Linked DNA regions of Homo sapiens: regions 2 and 3 are each linked to region 1. Evidence: promoter capture Hi-C in human tissues and cell types (Jung and others, 2019). All regions are on one chromosome and are shown on one strand. The core of a region is centred on a gene start or on the middle of the fragment in contact, and the rest is flanking DNA. Distances in the headings are between cores, read along the strand shown.

The links. Contacts are between HindIII fragments. The study calls those that stand out against the background at their distance.
Region 2: a fragment that was not itself captured here is called in contact with the fragment with the promoter of CLDN20 in region 1 in 1 of the 25 tissues and cell types used here (dorsolateral prefrontal cortex).
Region 3: a fragment that was not itself captured here is called in contact with the fragment with the promoter of CLDN20 in region 1 in 1 of the 25 tissues and cell types used here (dorsolateral prefrontal cortex).

The regions. Positions count from the first base shown.
Region 1 is chr6:155,262,374-155,265,676 of GRCh38, forward strand. It overlaps CLDN20 (claudin 20), which reads left to right and starts at 1,640. Exons shown (of 2, transcript NM_001001346.3): 1 at 1,640-1,915. All of the region lies in intron 5 of TFB1M (transcription factor B1, mitochondrial), which reads right to left. The HindIII fragment of the contact is 11,103 bases long and covers 1-3,303 here.
Region 2 is chr6:156,980,284-156,983,586 of GRCh38, forward strand. The region is part of intron 4 of ARID1B (AT-rich interaction domain 1B); the gene reads left to right. Among named protein-coding and RNA genes, the nearest start is that of MIR4466, 200 kb to the left of the region's middle. The HindIII fragment of the contact is 3,613 bases long and covers 1-3,303 here.
Region 3 is chr6:156,822,512-156,825,814 of GRCh38, forward strand. The region is part of intron 1 of ARID1B (AT-rich interaction domain 1B); the gene reads left to right. Among named protein-coding and RNA genes, the nearest start is that of MIR4466, 44 kb to the left of the region's middle. The HindIII fragment of the contact is 7,679 bases long and covers 1-3,303 here.

The sequences.
Region 1 (3,303 bases), core at 390-2,889:
AACTGTCAGGCATGTGTCTGGCCACTCTCTACACCTCGCCAGCCTTCTCTCACTGGACTCTCCATTTCCCTTTCATCCCCTGAGCTTCCTGGCACCCTTGTCCCTGCCTCCCGTTCTCCAGGACTCATCTCCTGTAACCCTTCAACTCCAGTTCTCCCAGTGACAAAGAGCCAATTCTATCAATTCTTACTAGCAGCCTGCTAGTCTCCAGAAGAAATACTCTTAGCAAAATCTGAGATAAAATCTAATCCCTGCCTAGGCCTAAAACCATGAAATATTATCAAAACTCTACATAAGGCTTACAAACTATTAAGACCAAAAGCACAAATACAGAGATAGATGCACTCTCTTCCAGTACAGAAACTGCCACTTTCAGCTTCCTTAGATTTTAAATTTTGGCCTCATCTTTATTTGCCTGATTTCATTCCTTTGAGATATAGTTGGTATTTGCAAATACAGGAAGTGTCTAACTTTTGCTTGATTTAAATAAAGTTTTAAAACCCTGAACAAATATAGTAGTACCCCATGTAAACTATAGCGTCGACTTCTAAAGTTTGAATACAATTCCAATACTCTGTTAAGTTGGCTTATATTATGTCACGGCTAAAAGAGAATTCCCCTCACAAATGCAGTTACTATTTAGTGGGAGATTCTGTAAAACTCAGCGTCAACAAAGCTCTTCCAGTTATGTCTCCTGCTTCTGGGACGGCCAGGACCTCTCCTGTACCACCCCTTCCTCTCCCTTTCCCCCAAAGGCACCTTTCAGAATTACTCTGAATGATGGAGCCCATTTTTTTCTAGAACTATAGGAAAGCTGCTTGGTAACTATGGTAACGAATACAAAAATGTTTTTTACTTATAATTGAATGCTTATTTAAAATTACAAGTATTATTTTTTCTTCCTTGAGTTTTAAGTCTATTAATGGGTTTGATTACAAAAAAGAAATCAGTACAAAGGCATCAGAAGTACTTAAAATATTCTAGTTTAATGCCGCCAGCCTTTTCCAAACTCAGTCCATCAGTATACCAAAATGACCTACTAAAATTTCAAATGAAAGGATTTAAAATGAATTTAAATATTTGCCTTTCTAACCCTATACGTCAACGCTGTAACAAGCTAAGACTGTTTCTCAGTGTTAGCAGCCTTGGCCATAACAGGCCCGAGGCAGATGTCCTAGTTTCCAGGCCAGGGTGTCTAGGACGTGACTGGTTATCAGCTCAGAGCAGCACTTGGAACTCACAAGGGACCCGGGCTAAGGAGATATTAAATCTTAAATCTTAGATATTAGATATTACAACTGAGAACTGTAATCAACATGATATACAGAGGACACTGAAGAGACGTACAACTCAGTTCCTGATGATTATCATATGCCCAAAAGCTAAGTCACGACCACATGCACAGACACAGAAACAATGCTGGCCACTGTCTACAAAAGGGTCTTCATTCAACACTCTCACGGTGTTCAAGACCATTAGAGGACAAGATAGTGGAGATGAAAAAATGATGAGGAAGTTACTATGTAAATAGCCAAGACACAGCCATAACTTAAGACAACAGAAGGGCTAGTGAAAAAAAAAAAAAAGACCACAGGGAATAATCAGTAAGACTTTAAAGAACAACATATAAGAAGGATTCAAAGTTCGAAGTGGGATGATCACGGGCAGACCTGGGTGGTTGGGAACAGGAAGCATATGGCATCTTGCAGGCTATAGGCACCACAAAATGGAACGCAGGAGGACAGGGGCTTGGGAGAGCCACTTCACTGTCGGGTAAAACAACGGAGCAAGATGAGTGCCTCCGGATGCTTGGTTTCCCCACCCTCCAGTGTCTGCTTGCTCTTCAAGTACCTCCACCAAGCTAATGACAGTCCACTTTAGGACATCACGGGCCTCGAGGTTACAACTTTCCCAGGTAAGGAGAATCCCAGGTAGAGGCAGCAAGTCACTGATGCCTGTGATATGATAATTATGCATGTCATAGAAAAAGAAAATACTGACAAATGTGAATGTAGATCACATTTTCTGGAATTGGTTCACTCTACCTGTGATCCATGTCCAAAAGCCAATTTAAGGAAAGAATTTCCACTGTAAAACCTTAAAGCTGACAGCATTCTAAGTATTTCAAACCAACTGGTTCAATAAAGATCAACTACACGGTCAGTACCTATCCTAAAGTTTACAATTTGTGTTATTGTAACAATATTTATTTCTGCAGAAGTTCTGTCCTCACCCTTTTTTCTTCCTACAGATCTTTGTTTTTTTCTCTTTCTTCTTGGGATCATAAAAAAAGAACAGATTTTAAACAGTCACATAGTGTTTCCTCTCAGAGCAGATGTGGTAGGAAGAACTGAGGCCAAGAGAATGACAGCAAACTCAGATCACAAGAGAAATAAGACTAAGAAATGTGGTGAGGGGGATGAAGAGTTTTTTTACTGTGTAAATTATGTAAATGTACATATGTATGTATGTAAATTACACCTATTAGTAATAACAACAACAAGATGAGTCAGTGTCTCTTGGTCCCAAGAGATTAAACAATTTCAGGGAGATGCACGTGTAATCCTCAAGAAAGCACAAATGGAACAAGAACTGACAATTGTTGTATAAAGGTTTTCTGTTACATTTAATCTGGAGTTCCTGGATGATCAGAGGGAAAAGACCTTCCTAAAACTAGGCCTTTTCCACAAACCACGCCCTTGGTGTCTGTGAAGCAGCAGCATCTGGACGTGCCCTGTGTTTCCTGTCCCGGGCTGTGCTCCCGCTTGGGTTTGTGGATGTGGCAGGAGCTGCCTGAGGCAGCTTCGAGGCTGCCCAGCCGGGCCATGGGTGTGGCAGCACATTGGCAACTGCCAGGGTCTGGACCCCAGCGCTGCAGGTCCTGAGCAACTCCCGTCCCTCAGAGAGAAGACAGGACCTCAGAGAGGCTCTCAATCTAAACAAACTCAGAAGGCACTTGATAAATGCTGCTAGTAATATTATTAAAAGACTGAGAAATAGAACATGCATACAAATATAGTAATTCATAATAAACCATAATTATCAAACGGACTAGACATCACACTGAAGATGCTTGGTCAGTACATTCGTATATTCATAGCTGATACTGTTAATTTCCTAAGGCTGGGACAGAAGAAGAACATTATTTTAGGATTAGGTCAAATCACTTTAAATTTGTAGGGCTGGAACAGGTAACTATTTTATCTTACTCTGAACTGTCATTATTTTCAAGATTGAATGGAAAGCAAAGAAGAAAAAACATTTGTATTAGGGTTCTCTAGAGGGACAGAACTAATGGAATAT
Region 2 (3,303 bases), core at 345-2,844, 1.7 Mb after region 1:
ACCACCCCGGCCCACACAATGAAACCCCATCTCTACTAAAAATACAAAAATTAGCCGGGCGTGGTGGTGGGCGCCTGTAATCCCAGCTACTCAGGAGGTTGAGGCAAGAGAATTGCCTGAACCTGGGAGGTGGAGGTAGCAGTGAGCCGAGATCATGCCATTGCACTCCAGCCTGGGCGACAAGAGCCAACCTACATCTCAAAAACAAAACAAAACAAAACAAAATAAGAATCATTGAGCTCCTTTCTGTGTGCCAGTCAATGTGCCAGTCATTGGGGATACAGAGATGAAACCACGCAGTGCTTTTCCCGTAGGAGGAGTCCGGTTTAGTGGCAGGGCTACTCGTAGACAGTGCCGTGTAAAATCGCCTGCACTGTTGTGGCTGAGGATCTGCAGGAGCCTGAGCAGGGATCCCTGGAGTGGAGGGACGGCCTTTGAGACAGTGGAGGGACCCGTGCAGCAGCCCGGAACCCGGCAGTCTGGGGAAAGGCTGGCAGCTTTCAATGTACCCAGGAGCTCAGATTTCAGCCTGAGGCAGTGAAGAGCCCTTGACATACAGAAGAATACACAGATACTGGTTTATATTTTTAGGGAAAATCTTTTATTATTTTAGGGAGGGTCACAGAAATTAAGTCATTTTCACTTGTTGGAAGAAACAATTTCATGATAAATCTAGTTAGTGTTTATTTTGTTGTTTACATTGTAGCATAAACATCTGTGTAATCATGGCAGGTAAGTGAAGCCACTGTTTTTGTTGGTTTAACTCATGACTTAGCAAAAACTGGAAAGGTATTTCATTTCTTGAGACTTGTAGCCACTGTCCTCCCTTGTCTACTTCTGAGGGTGAGCAGTGCTGGTGTGACTGTTAGAAAGCACTGACTTAGTCTCTTCCTCTAAGATTGCTCCAGGTCCACATGACCTGTGGGCAGGATGGATGATTGATGTCTTTCTTTTGAGGGGTGGTAGTGAAGTAGAGCATAGGGGATTATTAACCACCTAGGTAGCTGGATCAGGCAATGGAGAGTCTCTGCCGTTCTTCACATCGAGTATATAGAATTAAGCATTCAGAAACAAAAAGGAGTTAAGGCACATATATCCTTTTCTCCTAGGATAAACTGTAACCCAGGTCATCTAAGTTTTCAAAAATAGACAAAATTTAGGAATGTATGATGAATTTATAGATGATGAAAATCAAATGAAATTGTCTTGTTACATGTATATTTCTTTAGAAATGTACATATACATGCAATCATTGCTATATATTATCTTTTAAATTCCTCAGTTTGGCATCATTTACTGGCTTCCTATTAGATGAGGATTGTAGCTTGCTGTACACTGTGTCTTTCCCACTCTTCAATGTCCTACCCATCTAATCCCATCAGGTTTTGGTTAAGACTGCATTACTGTTTATGTTATTATGTCTTCTTAACTCTTGTTCACTAAGCTAAATATTGCATTATACTATACTTATACTGTAATACTATAATAACTTAGTTTTGCTTGGAGTTCATTACCTCGTTTTTTTTTCACATGCTTTTCTTTGAACATCTGACTGGGCCTTCCTGTGCCCTCCAACAACTGGGCAGTGCAGTCTTCATGCGGTCATACCTGCCAGAGAAGTTTTTCAGCTCCAGTATTTTTTCTTAAGAGACATCCCTTCTGGATTTCCATAGTCTTCACCACAATTTGGAGTGGTTGTTAACGCAGGAGATAGATGTGTACAGCCATCTCCTGGGATGTCTCTTTTTTTTTTTTTGTGACTCTTCTGTTTGCCTCATGTGTGGATCTCCCGTTTCCTAGATCACTTACCATTTTGACTGCGCACATCTTTCAGTAGCTTCTTGAGAAAATGTGAATGGGAGGTAAATTTTTTAGACCTTGCATGTTTCAAAACACCTTTACTATATACCCTCATATTTAAATTGATTGACTACATATAGCAATCCTGCATGGAAATAATTTTCTCTAAGAATTAAAAGATAAAAGCTTCTGACTTCTGCTATTACTGCTTTCTGATGTTTCCTGTTGCTGTGGAGAAATTAGATGCCATTGTGACGTTGCCCTTTCTTTCTGTGTGATCCTGGAAACTGTTAGGGTTTTCGCCTGTGATGCCCGAAATAGTGCTGTGTGTCTCTATGGGTCTTTTTTTTTTTTTTTTGTACTTCATTGTGCTGGGCACTAAGTATGTACTGTTCTTCATTTTGGGGCAATTATCTTATATAGTTATTTGGTAATTTCTTTCTCTCCCTTAATCTGCTTTCTTATTCTGGTGCTCCTGGGTGTTGGATATACTGGATTTATTGATCTTTTCTTTCCTTCACTGATTTTTCTTTTCTGTTACTGTTTTCTGCGTGGGAGATAACCTTGACTCTATCTGCCAATCTGACTGTTAAATTATCTTGTTTTTCTCTTTATATTTTTTAATTCAAAGTGTTTTTCTTTATACATAGTTCCTTTTTTAATAGCATTCTTTATTTCCTGTATGCAATCACTTTTCCTCTCTCAAGCAGCATGTTATTATTTTTTACAATGTTTCTTCTATTCCTTGCATTATCTGTTTCTTCTGAATTACCCTTTTTACTTTTTACAATCTGTTTTAGGCAGGAGGCTTCCTCAAAAGTGTGAGAATCTTTGTTCCTATTTAAGAGTGAGGTGCATTAAAGGGCTGATTGGTAGTGGTGCGTGCCTGTAATCCCAGCTACTCTGGAGGCTGAGGCAGGAGAATGGCTTGAGCCTGGGAGGTGGAGGTTGCAGTGAGCCGAGATTGCACAACTGCACTCCAGTCCGGGCAACAGAGTGAGACCCTGTCTCAAAAAAAAAAAAAGAAAAAAAAGAAAGGCCTGGCACAGTGGCTCACGCCTGTAATCCCAGCATAGGCTGAGATGGGTGGATCATGAGGTCAGGAGTTCAAGACCAGCCTGACCAAGATGGTGACACCCCATCTCTACTAAAAACACAAAATTTAGCCAGGCTTGGTGGCAGGCGCCTGTAATCCCAGCTACTCGAGAGGCTGAGACAGGAGAATCGCTTGAACCCAGGCGGCAGAGGTTGCAGTGAGCCGAGATTGTACCACTACACTCCAGCCTGGGCGACAGAGCGAGGCTCAGTCTCAAAAAACAAACAAACAACAAAAACAGGCTGGTTGGAGGCCTCCTGTGTGAGCTGGGCATGTGGACAGGTAGGCATTTCTTTGGGGTTATCATGTGATCAGCCAGCTTTTTCACTGGGGACTTCCTCATGTTGATATGTGAAATATGCTCAGGAGTAGTTTATTTTCTCCAGAGAAGACACTGGTCGTGTTCT
Region 3 (3,303 bases), core at 513-3,012, 1.6 Mb after region 1:
CTGCAGTAGTGGTGGCAGTGGTAGCTGAGATTCTTGGTTCTTTCTGGCTTAGAGAGGAGTAGGCACTTGTTATGAAACAAGGGAAGAGTCTTTAGTGCCCACTTTTACTTTTGCCGTAAACGGGTTTTTATGCCGTTAGGAGAAGAACCTGACCAGAGTATGCATTCAGTATTATCATTGTCTTTACTTGTGTCTTCTGCAGGTGTGTACAGCAGCTCTGAAGTGTGTCCCACAGTGGCTTCTGGGTGGTGCCACTGGCATGTGGTGGGGAACCTCTGTGGTGAGGTGGAGTGGGCGCCCACTGCCCACTGTTCTGTGTGTGCCGTGACCAGGCGGGTGTGCGAGGGAGGAAGACAGGCTAGACGGCCGTGTTGCATCCACCTCCTGTTCTCCCTTTACAGAGAGCCAGAGTACTGTTTGTAATATGCTCAGGGAAAAACAGAGGCATTTTGAGCTATATTTAGACACCATCACAGAAAAGTAAACACAGATTGCTTCCCGATATGACAGCAACTATCTACAGGCCACTGTGGCTGACCCCGATCCTTATCGAGCTTGTTTCACATGGCTGTGATCTGTGTGCATCAGTATTGAAGAAATGGCACGTTACCTGACATGTCTTCTCTATGCCCGTGTGTAGTCCGCTGTGTTGGTGTGTTACGGCCGGGCCATGGATTCTTTACTTTTGCACAGTTGGGCTGTTCCATTTTTTCTCAATGAGTAGGTGGGCCCTGGGCTCCAGGTGCTGCCATAGCCCCTGTGACCTCTGAGAGCCTTTATAGCGCTGATGAATTTAATGTTCATAATAATTGCAAGGTGGGTTTTATTTCTCCTTTAGTGAATGAGAAAACTAAGAAATAAGGTCACAGTGTACTCGAGGTCCCTGGTGGGACAGGGCTGTGAATCCATTCTGAATCCAGAGCCCCTACTTCCTTGCTGGGCAGTGCCATTCGGTACACAGCTGCAGACGTGAATAAACACCCCCTGCCCTGTTTGAGCGAGAGAAATAGAACAGATTTCAAAAGTTTTCTTTAGTTACTGGTAAGAGAATGTTGTTTCCCGAACAATGGTTCAAAAGAGGGAAGAGTTTTCTATCAGCTCTTGTTTAATCCACATGTGTAGAAATGATTTTAGATCAACAAGATTCGATAGTTCTTTCGGTGGGTTTTCTTTGTTGTTTTTTTTTTTTTTTTTGTGAAGTGTTTTTCCAATTTGCGGTTGAAGGAATTGGGCTGAAAAAAGTAGTAAAATATGATATGCATAAAGATGTATCTAATAAACTGTGTTCTTAATTTGATATTTAGGAGCAAATACAATTAGATATCTTTTACTATAAATGCATGTGTAGGGATACTCTGAAAGCCTGATAACAGAGTATCTAAATATAAAAAGGATAAAGTATATTTAAAGTATACTAAAAGTATATAAGCAAGTTGTCCTTTAACTTGGATCATCTTGAAAAGGACAGTTGGATTCCCAGCCCAGCCTCTGAAAGCCTATCTGACATGTAATATAGCTGAATTGTGCTACCCAATATGCTTAGAAGAATCTATATACAAACATTTCTTAAAAATAGACAATGTATTTCTTCCTTAGAGAGAGAGAGAATAACTCCTACTTACATGTACATCCAAAAGTTTACTTTGAATAAGGAGGAGGAAAGTCTTATCAAGTAAAAAAATTGCATTAAAAGCCAAGTAACTAAAACCAGACTGGTTAGGTTAAGAGCTCTTTGAAAATGGTGGTGTATATATTGTGGCCTTCACAGCACTTGTCTTATTTTCTGGAATTGAAACTCAAGCTACAGCAGTTGTGGAATGCCATCTAGAAATGAAAACATGCTCGGACAATCTATTTAGAGAAGTTGTTGAGGGCTGTTTTCGATGTGGATGATAACCCTGATAGAGCATAAACTTTCAGTGAGAAATGAAAATGGTCATACCCGGATAGATGTTAAAAAAACATAAAATTGGCCAGGCGCAGCGGCTCACGCCTGTAATCCCAGCACTTTGGGAGGTCGAGGCAGGCGAATCACTTGAGGTCAGGAGTTCGAGACCAGCCTTGCCAACAAGGCAAAATCCTGTCTCTACAAAAAATACAAAAATAAGCTGGGTGTGGTGGTATGTGCCTGTAATCCCAGCTACTTGGGAGGCTGAGACATGAGAATCACTTGAACCCGGGAGGTGGAGGTTGCAGTGAGCTGAGATTGTGCCACTGCACTCCAGTCTGGGTGACAGAGCGAGACCCTGTCTCAGAAAACAAAACAAAACAAAAAACATAAAATTGCTTCAGGTTAGATGTGCGTATGAGAAGCAGCTTGGCCCTTTTGTTTTCCAGAAGTCTTAGATTTGATTTTTTTTTTTTTCTTTGAGATGGAGTCTTGCTCTGTCACCCAGGGTGGAGTGTGCAGTGGCACGATCTTGGCTCACTGCAACCTCTGCCTCACAGGTTCAAGCAGTTCTCCTGCCTCAGCCTTCTGAGTAGCTGGGATTACAGGTGCCCGCCACCATGCCTGGCTAATTTTTTGTATTTTAGTGGAGACAGGATTTCACCGTGTTGCTCAGGCTGGTCTTGAACTCCTGAGCTCAGGCAATCCACCTGCCTCAGCCTCCCGAAGTGCTGGGATTACAGGCGTGAGCCGCCGCACTTGGCCAATTTTTAGTTTCTTTAAGGGACTGGTAGTGAGAAGCAGGAGTTGAGACCCTCAGTTGTACATTTTTAATGCTCAAAAATAGAGGACACAGCAGGATGGATTTGGACTGTGGATGAATATTTAATAATAGACCATAAGGAGAAGTTAAAATTAAATAATTTGCACTGTATGAGTAACTGTTTTTCTATCTGAAGTCTCATTGAAAGATATTTGATGCATTTTGAGAGGTTCAGATAATCTGTGTATTTAATGCTTTCGATTTTCAGAAATCTGAGGGTTAAGCTAACATTTTTGACATGGTGCAAATTAACTGAATTTTAAGTAGGACTGTGAGAGTTGATGGCAGTGATGAGACAGATAATACAAAACAATTTTAGTCACTGATAAGATGAATTTGCTGCACTGTTATCTATAGCATTAAAACATAGACATTCCAATCATTTTCCCATTTAACATTTCTGCTTTAATTAAGGCAGTTTTGGTCGTGCACTATTTGAAGTGAAATAAGTAGACGTTTCCTGTGCCCTGGGCTGTCTAGATTGAATGTGAAGATAGGACTGCCTCAGGGCCCCGTATTGGAAATTCAGCCTGAAATTTGATTTACTCAGCCTCTCCATAGGTCCTTCATTCACTTGGCTGATTTTGAAATC